Regions from separate parts of the Homo sapiens genome. Here region 2 is linked to region 1. Evidence: promoter capture Hi-C in 16 types of primary human blood cells and fetal thymus (Javierre and others, 2016). All regions are on one chromosome and are shown on one strand. Each heading gives the region's core, a stretch centred on a gene start or on the middle of the fragment in contact. The rest is flanking DNA. Distances are from core to core; before and after follow the strand shown.

The links. The method cuts DNA at HindIII sites, captures the fragments that hold promoters and counts their contacts. A CHiCAGO score of 5 or more calls a contact.
Region 2: a fragment that was not itself captured here is called in contact with the fragment with the promoter of SYDE1 in region 1 in 1 of 17 cell types (endothelial precursors); the score reaches 5.8 in endothelial precursors.

Annotation. Positions count from the first base shown.
Region 1 is chr19:15,105,847-15,109,232 of GRCh38, forward strand. SYDE1 (synapse defective Rho GTPase activating protein 1) reads left to right here and starts at 1,555. Exons shown (of 8, transcript NM_033025.6): 1 at 1,555-1,675; 2 at 3,210-3,386. The coding sequence starts at 1,588. RefSeq lists an enhancer at 3,241-3,386. The HindIII fragment of the contact is 2,464 bases long and covers 1,097-3,386 here.
Region 2 is chr19:15,386,223-15,389,608 of GRCh38, forward strand. All of the region lies in intron 12 of AKAP8L (A-kinase anchoring protein 8 like), which reads right to left. Among named protein-coding and RNA genes, the nearest start is that of AKAP8, 8.1 kb to the left of the region's middle. The HindIII fragment of the contact is 3,136 bases long and covers 84-3,219 here.

The DNA of each region.
Region 1 (3,386 bases), core at 305-2,804:
GGGCAACATGATGAGACTCTATCTCTACAAAAAGTAGGGAAATTAGCCAGGTATGGTGACACATGCCTATAGTCCCACTTGCTCGGGAGGCTGAGGCAGGAGCATCACTTGAGCCCAAGAGGCTGAGACTGCAGTGAGCTGTGGTGGTACCACTGCACTCCACCTTGGTCTAGTTTTATATATTTTAGGGAGACATGAGACAGCAATCAATATATGTAAGATGCACATGGGTTTGGTCTGGGAAGGCAGGACAACTCAAAAGTAGGGAGAAGGCTTCCAGGTTATAGGTGGATAAGAGAGAAACAATTGCATTCTTTCGAGTTTCTGACTAGCCTTTCTGAATATGCAATTTACAGAGATAGTCACTTATGCCTTAGTCTGGCTTAGTGAAACAAATAGGTAAGGAAGCGATCAGATATGTGTTTGTCTCATGTGAGCAGAGGGACAATTTTGAGTTCTGCCTGTCCTTCATCCATAAGGAATTTCCTTGTAGGCAAATTGTGGGGGAGGTATGTAGCTTTTTTTTTCTTTTCTTTTCTTCTTTTTTTTTAGACGGCATCTTGCTCTGATGACCAGGCTAGAGTGCAGTGGTGCAATTTTGATTCACTGCAACCTCCACCTCCCGTGTTCAAGCAATTTTCCTGCCTCAGCCTCCCAAATAGCTGGGATTACCAGTGCCCACCCACCATGCCTGGCCAATTTTTTTTCTTTTTCATATTTTTAGTAGAGATGGAGTTTCACCATGTTGGCCAGCCTGGTTTCGAACTCCTGACCTCAAGTGATCCGTCGCCTCAGCCTCCCAAAGTGCTAGGATTACAGGAGTGAGCCACCGCGCCCAGCTAGCTTTTTTAACCTTGTAGCTATCTTACTTAGGAATAGAATGGGAGGCAGGTTTGTCCTACACAGTTACCAGTTTGACTTCTTCCTTTTGGCTCAGTGATTTGGAGGTCTCAAGATTTATTTTCCTTTCACAATCACGACATGGTTGTTTTACATCATTACGTTTGGGGATGGTTTGTCAAACAGCAGTAGTAATTGGAATTTGGAGGTGAGAGAATTGAGTGGGGAAAGAGTGGCATGGGGAGACCAAGGAAGAAGCTTGGGGTGGGGTGGGTAGTGGGGACGGTCATTGAAACGAATGACACTACGGCTTGCACCAGGTTGAAGCAGTACCTGGCAAGGAGAGAGAGGATACGTGGAGGCTGCGATTTGGAGACAGACCCAAGAGAACTTCCTGGATGCCATCACCCAGAGTCCCATCCAGGGAGGGTGGGTGAGGTGGAAGACAAGGGATCGGGCCTGCGCCACGATCGTCACGTCCCATCGAAGCTGGAGCGGATCCGGGCACCCGGAGCCCCCATTCCAACCCCTCCCGGCCCCAGGCAACTACATCTCCCAGCATCGCCCGCTCGGGCCGCGGGAAAGGGGAAAAAAAAAAAAAGTTTGGGCCAAGCATTCCCGGAATGTGCTTCCTGCTGGCGCGGGGCGGGGGGCGGGCGGGGAGGCCCGGGCGGGGCGGGGAGGGCGCGGGGCGGCGCGGCCGGAGCCCGGGGCGCGCACTCGGCTCGGCCCGGCCCGGGCCGCAGCATGGCCGAGCCGCTACTCAGGAAAACCTTCTCCCGCCTGCGGGGCCGGGAGAAACTTCCCCGGAAAAAGTCGGACGCCAAGGAGCGCGGTAAGCGGAGATCGGTGGGGAACAGGGGGCGCCGAGCCCCACCCGGCCTGGGAGCGGGGTCCCAGGGCCCCGAGGACAGACGGTGGGGGGGATCAGGGGGAGCCCCCCGCACCCCGCTGCAGACTGGGGTGCCTCCAGCCAGGGGAGGGTAGGGGTCCTGGAAGGAAGGGGCTGGGAGGGAGGGGGGCGCGGACCGTTATGTGCTGCTGGCCGGGGATGCCAGCGCTGCGGGCTCCTTGGGAGGCCCGGGAGGGGGCCTCGCCCACGACAGGAAATGGGGCCGCGACTGAGGGCCTGGAGGGTGGAGGGGAGGAGGGGCTGGGAGGCCGGGACACTGGGGCCCAGTCGGGCTGGGCAAGGGGCATCGGGAGCCCTGGAGGCGCAGGATGGGAGATGGGAGGCGTACTCCTGCAAAGGAAAGAGAGGGGCGGCCCGTCAATCAGAGTAGCTGCCCCCTCCGCCTCCCACCTACTAACAGTGACGGCAACTGCGCCTGCCTTAGCCCCAGGAAACTGTCCCTTTTATACAGATGGGGAAACTGAGGCACGGAGCAATTGGGTCATGTGCCCAGGGCCATCGACTTAAACAGCTCTTTGGACTATGCTACAAACAGAGACCCTAGAGGGTGGACATCAGAGGTGGCCAGAGGAGGAGTTCAGCAGGGTAGCAAGTAAAAACCTTAGAGAAACAGCTGCGTGGGATAGGGGGACCCAGGAAGGAAGGAGTTAAAGGAGGAAGGCCAGACCATTCCATGGACGTACCCCTTCCCCCCAGGCCTTCCCAAAGATTCCCAATGTTCCCAGGGAAGGGAGAAGGGACAGAGATGCCCAAACACAAACACACACAGGAAACAGCCCAGGACATGAGACAGGAGAGGAGGGAGGGAAGGGGAAGTCCCAAAGCATTGAGCGTGGGGGGTCTGGCCTGGGCTGAGGGACAAGGGCCCATCCCAGGATGGCGACAGAGTTTGGAAGACAGGAGGGAGGGTAAAAGGGGCAGGGGACTGGGAGTGACTGTGCTGCAGGGAATAGAAAACCCAGCTCCTCACTCCTGAGCACGTAGTGCCTGCTGTGGGCTGTATACTTTTCCAAAAGGCTCCTGGAAGCCTCCCTGGACATGGAAATCACATCCCCCCATTTCACAGGAGGATACTGAGCCTCAGAGAGGGAAGCGACTTGCCCAAGGCCACGCAGGTGCAAAGCTCCATGCCACGGTTATTGAGAGGGTAGAGGAAGTGGAGACTGGAACGCAGTACCTACGGGCCCCAGGAAGCCTGACTTAGAACCCTGAGGCTGCAGGGATGGAGTCCCCTTTTGGGATGCCAGGGACTGAGTAGGGGGTGCTCTAAGCTGATAACTGAGATCGCTAGCCTGTGGCTGCCTATTCCAAACAAAACAGCAGGATCCAAGGAACCATGACTTATCAGGGGCCGGCCAGGGCCGTACACAGCATCCCACCCACTGATCAATTGCACAGGGCTGCTCTGCAGGCAGTGAGGGGCTGGGTGGGTCTCACTCCCCTTGCTCTCTGCCAGGCCACCCAGCCCAGCGCCCAGAGCCCAGCCCTCCAGAGCCAGAGCCCCAGGCTCCCGAAGGGTCCCAGGCCGGAGCAGAGGGGCCCTCCAGCCCCGAGGCATCAAGGAGCCCTGCACGGGGAGCCTACCTGCAAAGCCTGGAGCCCAGTAGCCGCCGATGGGTGCTGGGTGGGGCCA
Region 2 (3,386 bases), core at 402-2,901, 280 kb after region 1:
TTCATATCTTTAATAATAGTAAACTAATCTACAGTTTCATTTTGGTATCATCTTTATCAGAATTTTGGAATTAAGGTTTAAGAAGCTTCCTAAATATTGAGAGGACAGACTCTAGCATAGCAGTCTGAGGCGTTCCCTGGAACACTCCCTAGTGAAACTGATGAAAAGTATTAAAAAACAACCATTTAAAGTCTCTGAAAATGTTCCTAAGGACATACAGCCCTATGAGAAAGATTTAATGAGGAAAAGCTACTAAAACTCAGTTCCATGAAGAGTTGTGATGTCTGAAACACAACCTATTGCATCCCTGCCTCCCCCAGCTTAGTGTGATGGAAACTCCACTCCAGACAGTACAGCCAAGAAGACAGGTCTGCCCGCATCTACCCAGATCATCTCAGTTAAGGGGTATGATATCTTCCCAGGAGGAACAGAATGTCAGCATCTATTTTTCTGAGTTGGAGTTTCACTCTTGGTTGCCCAGGCTGGAGTGCAATGGCGTGATATCGGCTCACTGCAACCTCTACTTCCCGGGTTCAAACAATTCTCCTGCCTCAGCCTTCCGAGTAGCTGGGATTACAAGTGCCCGCCACCAAGCCCGGCTAATTTTTGTATTTTTAGTAAAGATGGGGTTTCACGATGTTGTCCAGGCTGGTCTTGAACTCCTGACCTCAGGTGATCTGCCCACCTTGGCCTCCCAAAGTGCTGGGATTACAGGCGTGAGCCACTGTACCCAGCCGGATGTCAGTATCTCTCATCCCGCCCCCAGCTACCTGCTGATGAGGCTAAGTTCTAGACAAGCATAGCTGAGAGAGAACGGTTCCTATCTTCTACCCAGCCACACGCACGTGGAATGGAGGCTTGACCCTGGGCATGGCACACTAAGAATATAAGGGCTCACATACCCATGGCTTGTTCATAAAGCAGAGGTCCCATGCCAGGAAAGGCAAACCAAGACCGGAGGCTACAGCCTACTGTACCTCCTCCCATGTCTCTCCTAAAGTGGCAGAGTCACTCAGAGAGAGGTACTCCATTGTCTCCATCCCCAGAGCCTTGGCTCAGAGATTCTGCCCACAGTGAGAGCACGGCCTTAAATCAGTAAACTCCCAATCTCAAAGGAACTGACTGACTTCACTGGCAAGAGTGTTGGGAAGTGCAAGACTAGGGCCTCTCTCAAAAACAATGGAGACTAGGGAGGAAAAAAATTAAAAGGACATTGATAGCTTTTTTTTTTCTTTCTGAATATTTATTGGAGTTAAACACTGATAGCTTTGTCCTTTTTTTTTTCCCCCACCACACAGCCATAAAAAAGAAGGACCGGTAGATTTGACAGTGATATTAGCTAACCCATAGGCTAACTAGGTTACCAAAGAGGACAAGGACCAGTGAAATAGCTAAGAACAGACTCCCTGGGTTCAGAATAAATCTCAAACAACCACCTCAAAAACCATCCCTCTTGGGCCTGGCATAGTGGCTGACGCCTGTAATCCCAGCACCTTGTGAGGCTGAGGTGGGTGGCTCATAAGATCAAGAGTTCGAGACCAGCCTGGCCAACATGGTGAAACCCCGTCTCTACTAACAATACAAAAATTAGCCGGGCGTGGTAGCACATGCCTGTAATCCCAGCTACTCGGGAGGCTGAGGCAGGAGAATTGCTTGAACCTGAGAGGTGGAGGTTGCAGCAAGCCAAGATCGCGCCACTGCATTCCAGCCTGGGCAACAGAGCAAGACTCTTGTCTGGGAGAGGGGGCGGGGAGGGGAGGGGAAAAAAATCCCTATAAAGGAGCCCAAATTTAATTGGATCAGATTGGGCAGCAATCTATGCCCCAAAACATTGTTGAAAACAATAAAGCAATCAGCCAGCAATTGGTAGAGTTTAACAGCTGAGTATGGTCTGGGAAAAAGAGCGAGCCCATGGCTTCCTCCCTCCAAGACACACCACCAGTTTCATACTGTGTGAGAATGAAAGAGACCTAACTAAAAAAATCTAGCAAGTCACTAAACAAATAGACAAGCAAATACAGTAACAAGACCCTGGGAGGGTGGGTGGGGGATCAGTGCCCAGAGTTGCCACAACAAATTATCTAAGATGTCTAGTTAACAGTGAAAAATTATGAGACATCCAAAGGAAACTCTGACCCAGGCACAGATGAAAAAGCAGACAATAGAAACTTCCTGTGACAGTGAACAGATGTCAAATTCAACAAACATTTTAAAGTAGCAATTGTAAATAGGTTTAAAGAAAACTCAAGTAGAAGAAGGTATAATGACACTGTCTCATGAAACAATTTAAACACAGAGATAGAAATGATAATAATAAAATGGTAAATCTTAGAGCTGAAAAGTACAATAACGGACACCAAAAATCCATTTGAAGGACTCAACAGATTTGAACTTAAGAATTAGTGAACTTGGGCCGGGTGCGGTGGCTCACGCCTGTAATCCCAGCACTTTGGGAGGCCGAGGCGGGCAGATCATGAGGTCAGGAGATCGAGACCATCCTGGCTAACATGGTGAAACCCCGTCTCTACTAAAAATACAAAAAAATTAGCCGGGCGTGGTGGCGGGCGCCTGTAGTCCCAGCTACTCCGGAGGCTGAGGCAGGAGAATGGCATGAACCTGGGAGGCGGAGCTTGCAGTGAGCCGAGATCGCGCCACTGCACTCCAGCCTGGGCGACAGAGCTAGACTCCATCTCTAAAAAAGAGTGAACTTGGCCGAGCTCGGTGGCTCACGCCTATAATCCCAGCACTTAGGGAGGCCGAGGCAGGCGGATCACAAGGTCAAGAGATGGAGACCATCTTGGCTAACACGGTGAAACCCCATCTCTACTAAAAAAAAAAAAAAATACAAAAAATTAGCCGGGCGTGGTGGTGGGCGCCTATAGTCCCCAGCTACTTGGGAGGCTGAGGCAGGAGAATGGCATGAACCCAGGAGGCGGAGCTTGCAGTGTGCAGAGATGGCGCCACTGCACTCCAGCCTAGGCAACAGAGCGAGACTCCATCACAAAAAAAAAAGAAAAAAAAAAAAAAAGAATTAGTGAACTTGTGTATCAAAAGAGATTATACAATCTGCAGAACAGAGGGAAAAAAATGAGGTAAAATGAACAGTCTCAGACAACCATGGCACACTATTAAGTGATCCAACATACGGGTAATGAGCATTAGAAGAGGAAAGAGAGAAAGGAGTAGGAAAACAAAATACTTGAAGAAACAATGGCTGAAAGCTTTGGAAGGTTGATGAAACCTGTAATCTATACATCAAAGCAGCTCAGGCCGGGCGTGGTGGCTCACGCCTGTAATCCCAGCACTTTGGGAGGCCGAGGCGGGCAGATCACGAGGTCAGGAGATCGAGACCATCCTGGCCAAGATGGTGAAACCCCATCTCTACT